2 separate regions of the Homo sapiens genome follow, and region 1 is linked to region 2. The links are contacts of gene promoters, found by promoter capture Hi-C in blood cells and fetal thymus (Javierre and others, 2016). All regions are on one chromosome and are shown on one strand. Each heading gives the region's core, a stretch centred on a gene start or on the middle of the fragment in contact. The rest is flanking DNA. Distances are from core to core; before and after follow the strand shown. Region 1 overlaps LY96 (lymphocyte antigen 96). Region 2 holds the start of STAU2 (staufen double-stranded RNA binding protein 2).

The links. The method cuts DNA at HindIII sites, captures the fragments that hold promoters and counts their contacts. A CHiCAGO score of 5 or more calls a contact.
Region 1: a fragment that was not itself captured here is called in contact with the fragment with the promoter of STAU2 in region 2 in 3 of 17 cell types (activated CD4 T cells, neutrophils and non-activated CD4 T cells); the score reaches 9.1 in activated CD4 T cells.

Annotation. Positions count from the first base shown.
Region 1 is chr8:74,004,485-74,011,859 of GRCh38, reverse strand. LY96 (lymphocyte antigen 96) reads right to left here. Exons shown (of 5, transcript NM_015364.5): 2 at 6,975-7,064; 3 at 1,731-1,859. Among named protein-coding and RNA genes, the nearest start is that of LY96, 17 kb to the right of the region's middle. The HindIII fragment of the contact is 3,733 bases long and covers 458-4,190 here.
Region 2 is chr8:73,743,603-73,750,482 of GRCh38, reverse strand. STAU2 (staufen double-stranded RNA binding protein 2) reads left to right here and starts at 3,643. Exons shown (of 15, transcript NM_001164380.2): 1 at 3,643-3,700. RefSeq lists silencers at 3,141-3,430, 3,511-3,600, 3,891-4,070, 4,181-4,240. The HindIII fragment of the contact is 14,890 bases long and covers 1-5,595 here.

The DNA of each region.
Region 1 (7,375 bases), core at 1,075-3,574, 260 kb before region 2:
TGAGATGGAGTCTCACTCTGTCACCTGGGCTGGAGTGCAATGGCATGGTCTCGCCTCACTGCAACCTCCACCTCCTGGGTTCAAGCGATTCTCCTGCCTCAGCCTCTCAAGTAGCTGGGACTACAGGCGCATGCCACCACACCTGGCTAATTTTTGTAGTTTTAGTAGAGATGGGGTTTCACTATGTTGGCCAGGCTGGTCTCGAACTCCTGACCTCATGATCCACCTGCCTTGGTATCCCAAAGTGCTGGGATTACAGGCGTGAGCCACTGCGCCTAGCCACTCTTCCCACTTTTTAATGGGGTTATTTGTTTTTGTTGTTGCTGTTGAGTTGCTTGAGTTCTTTGTACATTCTGAATATTAGTCCCCTGTTGGATGAATAGTTTGCGAATTTTTTCTCATATACTACAGGTTGTCTGTTCACTCCGTTGATTATTTCTTTTGCTATGCAGAAGCTTTTTGATGTAATTAAATCCCATTTGTCTACTTTTGTCTTTATTGCCTGTGCTTTTGAGATCTTTGTCATAAATTCTTTGCCTAGACCAATGTCCAGAAGAATCTTTCCTAGGTTTCTTCTAGTATGTTTGTAATTGCAGATCTTATGCTTAAGTTGTTCATCCATCTTGAGTTGATTTTTGTATGTGGTGAGAGCTAGGGGTCCAGTTTTATTCTTCTGCATATGGCAATCCAGTTTTCCCCAGAGTAACTTTCTGAGGAAGGAGATCCTACCATTCAACTTCAGATAACCAGAACGTAAATCACGATTTGCTCAAATTAGGTTCAATAGATGTTTATGGAAGAAAGTGGGAGGAGGGAGAGAAGAAGTAGACAAGCTGATTTGAGTCTGACACCTCTGAGGTCTCAAGAAAGAGAAACTTTGAAGATTCAGGTAAAATATCAATGTAATTCCACAGAGATTGTGTAAAAGAAATGCACAATTAAAAAAAAAAACAGTAATCTGCTAAGGGATTTTTTTTTTCCAAAGAGAAAGCATGACACAGTAGGAGAGTCATGTCTTAGAGTTAGGATGCTGCTCTGTTACTAGTTCTCCAAATGACCATGGACACATTACTAAGCCACTGCAAACATCAGTTCCCTCATTATAAAGATGACAGGACTGGAAAATTCATAACAAAAGAAGGATTCTTATTCTGAACACTGTACTAGGCTTTTTTTTTTAACATACATTCTCAAATTTAATTCTTAAAACTATGTATGATGTGTTTTACTTTCCCATTTTATAGCTGAGGAAAATGAGGCCAAGAAAGGTTAAATATTAATAACATGCCAAAAGTCACATTGCTGGTAAATGGAAAAGCTGGAATATAGCTCTAAAGTGGTAATTCCTTTTTTTTATTCATTTTTATTTTTTATTTTTTTATCCCTTGGTGCAAGATCTCTGTAAGGGTCCTAATTTCTGAATGTTATTATTCTGTAAATAATTCCAAGGAGGAACATAAAGGCAGAAGTCACTAAAGAAACCAAGGACTGTATAGAAAATCTGGTGGGTTACTATGAAAAATATTAATAATACAAATCATGTAAGTGTCATCCTAACAGTTCAAGTATATAGTTATAAAATGTTATTTAAGCTGCTAAAGTAAAAACTTTGGATGGAAAAAGAATTATTAGCAGAAAAGGAACTTCCCATTTTCAATGTATTTAATTTTCATAACATTTTCATAAAGAATTATTTCCTATTCTAAAAGTAATATGAACTGAATACTTACCTCCCTTCAGAGCTCTGCAAAAAGAGTAATCGTCATCAGATCCTCGGCAAATAACTTCTTTGCGCTTTGGAAGATTCATGGTGTTGACAGTTATATAGAGATTGAAATATAATTGCTTTAAATCTCTCCCTTTAAAAGAAAAAATCCCATTAGGCCCTCAAATAGTAGATTCTTTTATACATAGTAATTAACATTTATTGTATAGTTAAAAGGGGCCCTGTGCTTTTCTTACATTATTTCATTTAATCATCACAACTATCTACAAGATGTCAATTATTACTCTTCTTCTGCAGATGAGAAAACTGAAGTTCTGAGAGGGCAACTAGTAAATCATAATCAAATACAATGTTCCACAGTAAAACTATGCATGCTCTGCCTAAAAACAGAAGAGCCTTCATAACTTCATTGAGAAAACTATCAAATAAAGACATAAAATGTCTAGTTCTATGGTTCTGCTAGAAAATTCAAAAGAAAAGAAAAGGAAAGGAAGGACAGTGAGACAGTCAACTTTCTAGGAGTTCTGATGAAAGATTTCTTGAGAATAAAATAGAATCTTTTGATGAAAAATTAAATGTATGCCTATTTTTTAATTTCCTCATGATCTCCCTATTTCCAGCTACCATGAAAAATTCCAGTAATCAATGCATTTTTCTCAACTCTTCCAACTTATTCAGTTGGCCCAAATGAAAAAGATGCACAATCCTTTTCTTTCTTTTCTTTTCTTTTCTTCTTTTTTTTTTTTTTTTTTTTTTTTTGAGAAAGACTGGAGTGCAGTGGCGTAATCTTGGCTCACTGCAACCTCCGCTGCCCAGGTTCAAGCAATTCTTCTGCCTCAGCCGCTGGAGTAGCTGGGATTACAGGCGCCTACCACCGTGCCCAGCTAATTTTTGTATTTTTAGTAGAGATGGGGTTTCACCATCTTGGCCAGGCTGGTCTTGAACTCCTGACCTCGTGATCCACCCACCTCAGCCTCCCAAAGTACTGGGATTACAGGCATGAGCCACCATGCCTGGCCAAAAAAGATGCACAATCCTTTTCATAAAGAAAACAATTTTGCAACCACTACCTCACTGAAAATATTTTCCTAGTAAGATCACCATGACTCATTGTAACCATAATCAAAAGACAACTTTTCTAACTTTAATTTGAACTTGGCTATGCTTAACAGAACTGCCTGCTCCTTTCCCTAAACCTTCTTTGGTGTTGGTGCAACCACTCCCTTCCAGGTGTCCTCCAATCTCTCTGACTCCTCTTCCTCAGTCTATTTCATCGACTCCTGGATTTCTCCAGGATCTATCCTCAGTTCTCCTTAGTTTTCACTCTGCACACTCTCTCAGGCCAAGTACCACATAAGGTGACAATTCTCAAGTCAACTTTAGTCTCAACCTTTCTCCTGAGCATTGATCCCATGTATTTATTCAATATCTCTACTCAAATGTTGCCCAGTTACCTCACCCAACAGATCTAAAAGTGATTTCCTCCTCTTCATCACCAAGTTGGCACTAGAATTCCCAGTCCCAGTAAATCTTTCTAACCTCCTTTTCATCCCCATTACCGCGCTGCCTTCATGTAGGCCCTCATTGCTCTGAACCTGAAGCACCACCAACTTTCCTAATTTGTCTTCACTTCTCAACTTTCAGGGTAGGGTGTGGAGAAGAATATCATGGCGTCTGTTTCAAACAGTGATCCCATGGCCTACTCCATGGACTTGGGCTTGAACTTCTCCAAAAGCAGTGCTGTGTGTAGAAGTTGAAAGACCATTTTCATAAGGAATTCCTGGAGACACAGAAGCACAAGACAGCACCACTGTGGTGTCCAGTGACAATGCAGGGCAAAGGACCTTCTTCCATTTCTTCGTGAAACACAGCAAGATTCCAGTCTTCAATAACTCCAGGAAAGGAAGTCCTGCTTTGACAACTCAATAGTTTAAGTTGTGAGAAACTCCTTGTCCTTGGACACCACTGTGGTCACGTTAAGAACATGAACGATGGCAACAATGAGACACCACTTTTGTGGCTCAGCAGGCTGGGGATGTCAATATGGGTGTTGGAGTGAGAGACAAGAAACATGGGCTGGGCGCGGTGGCTCACGCCTGTAATCCTAGCACTTTGAGAGGCCAAGGCGGGCAGATCTCCTGAGGTCAGGAGTTCGAGACCATCCTGGCCAACATGGCGAAACCCTGTCTCTGCTAAAAATACAAAAATTAGCTGGGTGCAGTGGCAGGCGCCTGTAATCCCAGCTACCAGGGGTGCTGAGGCAGGAGAATCGTTGGAACCCAGGAGGCAAAGGCTGCAGTGCGCCGAGATCACGCCACTGCACTCCAGCCTGGGTGACAGAGTGAGACTCCATCTCAAAAAAAGAAAAGAAACATGGAGGCTGTCATGTGGTATAAAAGAGGACTATTTTTTAGCTTACCAAAGACAATTCCAGGAACTTCCAGAAATAACCTTGAAGGAAGCTTATGCTCCAGTTTGATTTGTCAATCAGTTAATAATATACAAATAATTTACTAGCAAGGCTATGACATCTCAAAAGATATCATTTCCATTCTCAACCTATTTTTGGTTCAAGTTTGTACTTGTATCTCTTCCTGAATTCAAGTAGAAATGAGGCCATAAAAATAAGGTTGATTTCCATGAATGTGGCCTCACACTTTATACCAACATTATAGTATATTCTATGGAAACATAATTGCGCTATAAAAATATGACTGAATAATTATTTTGTTAATGAATTAATATAATTTGTTATATAAATGTCATATTTAGTGAGAAATTATAAAACACTTGTGATGGCCATTGAGGTATGTCCCTCAAATTTCCCTTCAAAAGCAGCTGCTGTGAGAAGAGTAGCTGGCAGACAGCCTGCAGCTGCCATACCTTCACATCTATCTCAGCACTCAGCCAGAGGCCACCCTCTCGTAGGCTGCTCCTATAATGATCCAGCACTGCAAGGACCCTAGAGCCAGGCTACTCCCGCCTGTCATGGGTCTCTTACAACAGGCATTCTGCTCTGGGGCTTCCTATTTGGCCCAGCCCAAGAGTGTCTCAGGGATGCATTCTGGTCTGAGGATTATCCTACTTAATTCTCCTTCCTCCCTACTCTCTTTTCAAAGGTATCAGACCTGCACCCCAATCTGAATTTTCTCCTAGCCTACTCTGGCTTCCTCTCCCCTTTACTGTTCACAAGCGTTTCCTCCAAGAAATCTCTAGCCTAATTCCTTCTTAGTGTCTGCTTTTCAGAGAACTCTAAATGATTTCGTACTGTCTTATTATCTTGGCCTGGAAAGATACAACCTGTTTCCTGCGAGTAAGGGCAAGGGATTCACTTGAAAGTGAGATTATTCATTATGTAAATCATCCTTTATGCCAATTGTGTAGGGGTAAAACCTGCCAACAGACCAGAAAACAGAACCTAGGAAAAAAGAAGAAACTGTAGAGCCTTAGCCAAGCAAAACTTTAGATTATTTATTTTATCTTTGGCCAGGAAAGTGAAGGAAATAGAGTTAATCATCCTTTGCTCTGTGCTGTCACTAAGCCCTGTTGCTGTCACTTCACTTATACCATACTATCTGCAGTTCTGTCTCTCCTATTGCACTGATGGATTCCTGAAGATCAGGAGAATGTCTTATTGGCTGGGCACGGTGGCTCGCGCCTGTAATCCCAGCACTTTGGGAGGCCTAGGCGGGTGGATCACTTGAGGTTAGGAGTTCAAGACCAGCCTGGTCAGCATGGTGAAACCCCTTCTCTACTAAAAATACAAAAATTAGCCAGGCATGGTGGTGGGTGCCTATAATCCCAGCTACCCGGGAGGCTGAGGCAGGAGAATGGATTGAACCCGGGAGGCAGAGGCTGCAGTGAGCCGACGAGATCATGCCACTGTACTCCAGCCTGGGCAACAGACAGAGACTCCATCTCAAAAGAAAAAAAGAGAGAGAGAGAGAATATCTTATCAATGAATTCACAGTGCCTAGCATGATACTTACAATTTACTAAGCATCTTTTTAGTGAATAAATGAATGCAGATACAGAGTGTCAAAAAAACAGGTTGAACAACTAGAATCATGAAAATTAAAACACAAGTTTGTTGTCTATCATTCCTGGGTTCTCAGTTTTGGGGATTTTGTTGTTGTTGTTTTTCATTTTTCTGGTAAGCCAGAGAACTAAAATCGGGGGAAAATGTTTAAGCTTATTCATGTAAAACTACTCTGTAAAGTATTAATCTAAAACAAGCTCCAAATCTAAACTAGGATGTAAATTATGTGATAATGATGATGATAAAGATTAAAACTAAAGTTTTCTGGGATTCCAGAGCTTACAGGCAATAAACAATGTTTGGTAACTGGTAGGAGAGGAAAAAGTTTTGTGTCTGCACAGAGACTGAGATACAGCCCCATGCTATCACCCCACCTGCGTTAGTTTTTTCTAAGCTGATAACAAGCAAAGTCATAGAGAGGAAAACCAAGACACAACACAAAGCAAAACAAAACACATGGCCTTCTGTCATCCCATTATTACTGTATTTTTCTCTAGAAAGACCATCTTTAAAAAATATTGAAGTCCTGGCTTGCTGACACACAGATCTTTGACTAATGGAAACCCAATATTACTTATAGCTAATGATTGATGAAGGATATACCTGTAAGATTGTTGGACAGCTGAAGTTATTCCCATTTCTACCCACATGTTCTTGTGTAATCCTCTCCCAGTAGTATGGGCTAGCCTAGTGACTTGCTTCTAACCAATAGAACACAGCAAAGATGATGGAGTGTTACTTCCATGATTATGCTATATAAGATTGTGACTTGCCTAGTTAGCTGACTGTCCCCCTCGCTGGCTTTGAAAAAGCAAGCAGCCATACTGAAAATGCCCATGTGGTAAGGAACTGACGGGTGGCCAACAGCCAGCAAGGGACTGAATACTAACAACTGAATACTGACAACAGCTACGTGAGCTTAGAAGTATATATTTCCTAGTTGAGCCTCAGAAGGGACTCCAGCCTGGCAAACACCTTGATTGTAGCCTTATGGGAGACCTTGAAGCAGACACAGGTAAGCTATGCCCAGAATACTGATCAACAAAGATGATGAGATAATAAATGTGTGCTGTGTTAAGCCACAAAGATCGTGGTAATTTGTTACGTAGCAATAGATAACGAATACAAGTATATTTGAAACACAATCATTTATCACTGATATTTCTTAACTCCTTTGATTGGTCTATAAAAGCAAAAATTTGAACTTACTTGGAATGTAGAAAATGTGCAATAATCCTTTGGATCTTTTCAATTCTATACAGGGGTTAACATTAATTGAAATTGGGTATTGCATTTTATCTAAAAGCAATAAAGATAATGTCAATAAATTACTACAAATCATCTCCATTAAGTATAGTATTCTGAATATCAGCCTTTTAAGATGAATCTTGCATTAAAATTATAAAATAAGAAAAATTGATGATGATTGAAAATATCTCCCCAGAAGAATGACATCAGCAATGTGGCAGAATCAGAAGCCCTGAACTCTTCTTGCCTCCACTAACACAACAATTTACAGAAATATTCCCTTTATGAAAAATCAAACTAATTGAAAGACTCCTGCATGCAAGGAGAACACAAAACCAGATTCAACAAAGCCAGTAGGGAGA
Region 2 (6,880 bases), core at 2,394-4,893:
GATCCTCCCTCTTTGGCTTTTCAAAGTGCTGGGATTACAGGCATGAGCCACTGCGCCTGGCCTCATTTGCTTTAATCAGCTGCCTATTAATAGGCCCACTGTTCTTTATTTATTTATATTTTTTGATACAGGGTCTTTCTTTGTGGCCCTGGCTGGAGTGCAGTAGTGTGATCTCAGCTCACTCCAACCTCTGCCTCCCAGGCTCAAGTGATCCTCCCACCTCAGCCTCCTGAGTAGCTGGGACTACAAGCACGCACCACCACGCCCAGGTAGTTTTTCTAATTTTAGTAGAGATGGGGTTTTTGCCATTTTGCCCAGGCTGGTCTCGAACTCCTGACTTCAGGTGATACGCTAGCCTCCCAAAGTGCTGGGATTATAGACGTGAGCCACCACAGCCGGCTGGCCCACCGCTCTTTAAATATTCATTATTTTCAACTCCTATACAAATATTTTATTTTAAAGTAAATCCTAAAATGATTGTAGAGTGATGTGTGGATTTCCATGTCACTCAGGTGATTTCATGTACTGATACTATATACCTTGAGCAACTGAAAGTGCTGATTCAATTAAAAAACAATTTCCTTTCTGATAATTGTGACTTAGAAAAATTCATTCTATTTGGGGTTTACCAATGACTGAAAATCAGTTATGAGGAACAGTTACGGGAGGGATAAAGTTTTCAATTAACTTTAAGGATCTGAATCAAAGAGAATGAAATCTGACCACCCCAGAGTTCTTTCCAAAAGTATAAACTCATCCATTTATACCAAAGGATTTACCGTCCACCTACTTGCTGTTGGATGCTGGGACTACAGATATGCATGAGACACAGAGCCTGCCCTTCAACAATGCAATGTTTGGTAGATACAGACAGGCTAAAAAAAAAAATTCTAACATACCTACAATATCAGAGAAGAGAGGTACAAGAGAAGAGCACTCGCCTGCTCAGAGGAGTGTTAGAGAATGCCTCTCAAGGAGGTGATTTTTTTTCTTTTTTTTCTTGAGATGGAGTCTTGCTCTGCTGCCCAGGCTAGAGTGCAGTGGCTCGAACTCAGCTCACTGCAACCTCTGCCTCCCGAGTTCAAGCAATTCTCCTGCCTCAGCCTCCCAAGTAGCTGGGATTACAGGTGTGTGCCACCACGCCCAGCTAATTTTTGTATTTTTAGTAGAGATGGAGTTTCACCATGTTGGCCAGGCTGGTCTCAAACTCGTGACCTCGTGGTCTGCCCGCTTCGGCCTCCCGAAGTGCTGAGGTTACAGGTGTGAGCCACCACACCCGGCCAAGAAGGTGATTTTTGAATGCCGTGAAAGATTATTTGTTCACCAGGCGAGAGAAGGGTAGCCTGAAGGGAGAGAGAATAGCCTATGGAAAGACACAGAGGTAGGCAGCTTGACCCTTGGTATGGCTGGTGGGAAAGTAAGGTATTCATTCAAAATATTCAACAATTTCTGGTCAACTTCTTTCAGTCAATGATGGACAGGTGGACTGCATATACAACGGTGGTCCCATAAGATTATACAGTTCTTTAAGCCGGGCGCCTGCAATCCCAGCACTTTGGGAGGCCGAGGTGGTGGGGAGGGGCGGGGGGGGGGGGGGCCGGCGGGGAATCACTTGAGGTCAAGAGTTCGAGACCAGCGTGGCCAACATGGTCAAACCCCGTCTCTACTAAAAATACAAAAATTAGCTGGACGTGGTGGCATGTGCCTGTAATCCCAGCTACCAGGGAGGCTGAGGCAGGAAAATTGCTTGAACTCGGGAGGTGGAGGTTGCAGTGAGCTGAGATTGTGCTACTGCATTTCAGCCTGGGTGACAGAGCGAGACTTCGTCTCAAAAAAAAAAAAGATTATATAGTTCTTTTACTGTAGGTTTTCTGTTTAGGTACAAATACCCTTGTGTTGCAAAATTGCCTACAGTATTAGTACAGTAACACACTGTACAGGTTTGCAGCCTAGGCGCAATAGCTATATACCATATAGCCAAAGCAAGTAGTTGGCTAGACTACCTAGGTTTGCGTAAGAACACGCTATGATGTGCGCAAAACAACAAAAATCGCTTAATGACACGTTCCTCAGAACATATCCTTGTGGCTAGGTAAGGCATGACTGTATTAGAATGCTGACTGGGTGCGTAAGCCGCTAGAAGGAGCACAGCAAATTTAGGGAGGATGCAACATGTTAAATCCGAGGGAACTGGCAGAGGTGAAAAGGGGGGAAAGGAGCATAGGAAAGAGTTCTGGGAGGAAAAATATAGCTGTAGCTAACATTGTACCAGGAGAGGTACTACATACCCGGTCCTATTTAAAGGGCTTCATATGTATTGTCACATTTAAATACGAACTATCTATCACATGTAGTCTCCTCTTGATGCACAGGATAAGTAACATGCCCGTGGTCTCCTCACCAGTTAGCAAGCGGATATCCAGCCTTGGTTATCTGACTCTGGCGCCCTTGCGGTTAACCAGGACACACACTACCTTCCCAGGTGCAGACATGAGATTGGTTTTAGATGATGACTGAAATCACCGGCCTGGGAGACATTTCTCAGTCAGAGAAGTGACACTGGGAAGAAACCCTAGAAATAACGTTGCAAACGAGTAAGTTTGTGAAAACACACTAATAGTTCTATTTCGAAATTTCTTTGTCAGATTATTTTTGGTGCCGGTTACTAAACGAAGTGTTCAGTTTCATTGAGCTTAACTGGGTTGAAGTTATCTAGACAAAAGTAATCCACATCAAAACCAGGACGAATTAAGACGTAATTTCTGTTTTCTGGCACTCTTGCCTCATAAATCTAGGATTCAGGGCATTGTTTTCAATGGTTCTCATTTTTGGCTCCAAGGATTCTTTTTCATGTGACTAATATTTTCGGTAGAAGAGGAGGTCTGGCCACGCCGCGGGTCTTGGCGAGCAGGTGATCACGGATCCCTGGTGTTTGCTGGGCGAGACGGTGAAGCAACCTCCTCCCCGCCCCCTCCCCCGTCTAGAAAGGTGCAAGATCCGCTAAACCGTGCGTTGCACAGCGGCGGCCGGAGCAGACGCGGGATGGTCGCGCGTCCCCTGCACAGCACAGAGGGGCAGCCGGAGAGCCTGGGAAAGGTACGAGCGGGGAATCAGAGCACAGGGTGCGGACCAGAAAGAGCAGACGGTCAGTCGGGCGGGGAAGGAAGTTGCCGAGTTGCAGGTGTGGAAGGGGCTGCCCCAGGCCCACCCTTGGCAGACGAGGGGGCGGGGAGTCGCGCCGGGGACGAGGAGACTGCGGACCGGGCGCGCTCCTTGCGCAGTCGCTCGCCCGCGTGCCCAAGCCCCCCGGGAATGGCCCTCGCCCAGGGGCCCAGCTCGCCGCCGCTAGCCCCGCAGAGCCTGCAGCTGCTGGGGCCCGGCAGCCGCCAGGGGGCGGGAGCTGCGTCGCGAACAATGGCCGCGCTTGGTCGCGGGCCGGCGGGAGGCGGAGTGGAGGTAGAGCCGGTGCCGGGCGCGCGCGCCGGCCGGGCGTGCTGGGGCGCGGGAGCGGCTGCGCAGGCGGGGGCGCGCGGCGCGAGCGCGGGAGGGCGCGGCGGGAGCGCCGGGGAGGCGGGCGGAGGCGGGCGGAGGCGGGGGGCGGGGAGCCCGAGGGGTGGAAGCCGGCGGCGGCCGAGCGGGGTCAGTTCTCTGTAGTGTTTGCCAATGTTGGAGCCGTCTGCAAAGTGTCCCCGGCAAGAAGGTAAATACCCTCATCGGGGGCGTCCGGGAGACCCCGACTTCCGCGCCGCCGGCGAAGAAGGCAGAGGGCGCTGGGGAGCCCTGCAGTTCCGCAGCACGGGGAACCCGGAGAAAAGCAGCCCCCTTCGCGGCCTCCCCTCCCCCGCGCCTTCCCTCCCACATCGGGCTCTCGGGGCAGCAGCGGGGAGGGGAGACCGGCGGGGGAGGGAGGACAGGGAGGCGAAGGAATTGGGGTGGGGGGTGCGTGTGTGGTGGAGGGGGTGGGACGACACAGGTGTCCTGAGGGGAGGAGCCGGGAGGAAGGCGAGGAGGCCGGGCCAAGTGGGGGTGCGGAGGTCGGGGAGACAGGAACGCGGCTGCGGGCGCGGGAGGCTGGGGTTCTAGGGGGCCGGGGTGGTAGCGGCCGGAAGAGAGGACGGCGAGTGCAGCCACGGTGTGGCTGCGAGGGAGAGGGAGCGCCTAGAGTAGGGCAGGGGAGGGCGGCCCGGGGAGGGTCTGCGGGAAATGGGCCTGGGGGCGCTGGAGGCGGAGCGGCGGGGCCGGGGCGCGCCGGAGGGTGGCGGCGGCAGCTATTTCTGTAGAATGGGCTAGTGGTAAAGACGTAACTTGCCGAAATGGGGAGGGTAGGTGGGGCCGAGGGGACAAAATATATCCTATGACAGGCAAGTTCTGCTGTGGCTGTTACGAACTCCTACCGTGATGGCTCGGCTTAAAGGGGTAGTTGGCGGTAGTGACCTTGCCGGGGTGAAGGGAGTTGGGCGAGGAGACAAAGCTCAGTTACGGAATCCGCTGTGTGAGAGCAGGAACTCTAGTCTCTTCGGGGTCGAGCCGGGGGCTGTGGCTTGGGGGCTGGGGGTGCTCCGCAGAGGCCATTGAGAAGCACGCCACTCTGGGATTCTTAGGGAGGCGGTGGGGGTAATGGCCGTGGGATTCTGGAAGTCTTTGGAAATGTGTGTAGAATTTTGCATTTGTGAATAATTTTCTTTGGTAAGGGTCCATATTTGCTGTGATGTCCCCTTACCCCCATCCCCACTCCAAAGGGTTAAGAACTGCTTGAGCAGATAGAGAGGGACCATTCAATTAGGGTAGACCTGGGAATTTACCAAAGGATTTTAAAGTGGGTGGATCCTGCAGAAAGAAAGGCTAGAGATGATCCTTTAAAGATATTTTACTGTTAATTGAAAACGTTTTTTATTTAATGTTTGCTTTCACAATTTTGGTGAACTTTTGCTGAGCATTACTTGGCTTCTGATGCATCCTGTGTTTCAGACCAGCATCGTGAATACTTGAAATCAAAATTGTGATGGACAGGCAGGGTGATAGTAACCTTGGAGGAGAAAAGATTTCAACATTTCTCCAGGATATTTCTTCCCCGTCCTTGCTTTCTTTAGATGATTCAAGTACACTGTTGTGAACTCAGCTGCGGTGGAAAAATCTTATTTAATAAAACTACCAAAACCAAGACTTACTCTCCATCTCTGTTTTGTAGTATGGCCAGATTTTCATTGTTCAGTTTGTATCTTACTGCAAACAAGAGATATCACATAACACTTTAATTGTAGATTGCTGCATTTTGCAGCAGGCCTGTATTAAATTTGCGAAGCAGTTATGCCAAACTATCTGGTGTGTTTGTGTTTTCCTGCTATGGTTTCAAGTCAAGTCACTATTGCCATATTTTATTATATGGTAGGCTAGTCTGAAATTTATTCCTAAGTGATGATAAGTTGGTAGGATATGGTACATACTTGCTCACAAATTACTGCATTTTTCCCCATAAAAACCAGTGTTTTGTATTTGTAAGAATGTTGCTGTGTAATCCAAGTATGTATTGTTAATTTCAAATAAAATGCTGTGTAATTTTTAAATTTTAACTTTATTTGGAAATAATTTCAAGCTTACAGACAAATGGCAAGAATAAGAATAATACAAAGAAAATCTTTGTAACCTTTATTCAGATTCACCTGTTAACATTTTATGTATTTATTATTTGCTCTCTATCACACACAAAATATTTTTCCCCTGGACCATTTAAGGGTAAGTTACATACATTGTGATCCTTAACTCCTAAATACTTGAGCTTGGAAAACCATGCAAATTTTACATTTTAGCTTACTTGGCTTGTCTGGAATGAAGTGCTAGGAAGAGTGGCTTGGTTTGCTTTTCAACAAATAGTATGAATATAAAAAAAATCTAAGATAGTCATCAAGCTTTTAAATATACAAACAATCCAGAAATCGAGGCAGAGCGGTTTTCCTGTTTAGGTTCTAGAAGATATGGTAGGTTTTTTTTTTTTTTTCCTTTGTGCCTACCCTTCTCTTTATTCCTATTATTATCTTGTTTTGTGCACGTTCAGTGCTGGGAATCTGATCATTTATAGGTACAGATCATAATAAAGAGGGAAAACTCTAGATACTGCAAAATTGAATTCTCTTAGACTGCATAGTTTGAGACACGCACAGTATGATTATTCACATATAGATATATTTGTGCCTCTTATAGGTACACAAAATACTAGATGTCTAGAATCAGTAATAATTATCATTTTTATTTATGTGTGCATCGTTTGATTTTAAATAATCCTCCCCAAGTTCTATATAGGAGCTTTGCCATTATGTTGTCCTAGAGGTCAAGCCCTTGACTTTGTTCCAGGAAAAATTATAAGAAGGCAAATCTTTTATTTTTCACCAAGCTGATCATAGAAAATAAAAAAAATTGGCCAGGTGGGGTGGCTCATGCCTGTAATCCCAGCACTTTGGGAGGCCGAGGCAGGTGGATCAGGAGGTCAGGAGTTCGAGACCAGCCTGGCCAACATGGTGAAACCCCGTCTCTACTAAAAATACAAAAATTAGCTGGGTGTGGTGGTGCGCGCCTGTAATCCCAGCTACTCGGGAGGCTGAGGCAGGAGAATCGCTTGAACCCGGGAGGCAGAGGTTGCAGTGAGCTGAGATGGCGCCATTGCACTCCAGCCTGGGTGACAGAGTGAGACTCAGTCTCAAAAAAAAAAAAAAATGTCCGGGCATGGTGGCTCATGCTTGTAATCCCAGCACTTTGGGAGGCCGAGGTGGGTGAATCACCTGAGGGTTGGGGGTTCGAGACCAGCCTGACGAACATGGAGAAACCCCGTCTCTACTAAAAATGTAAAATTAGCCGGCCGTGGTGGCGCATGCCTGTAATCGCAGCT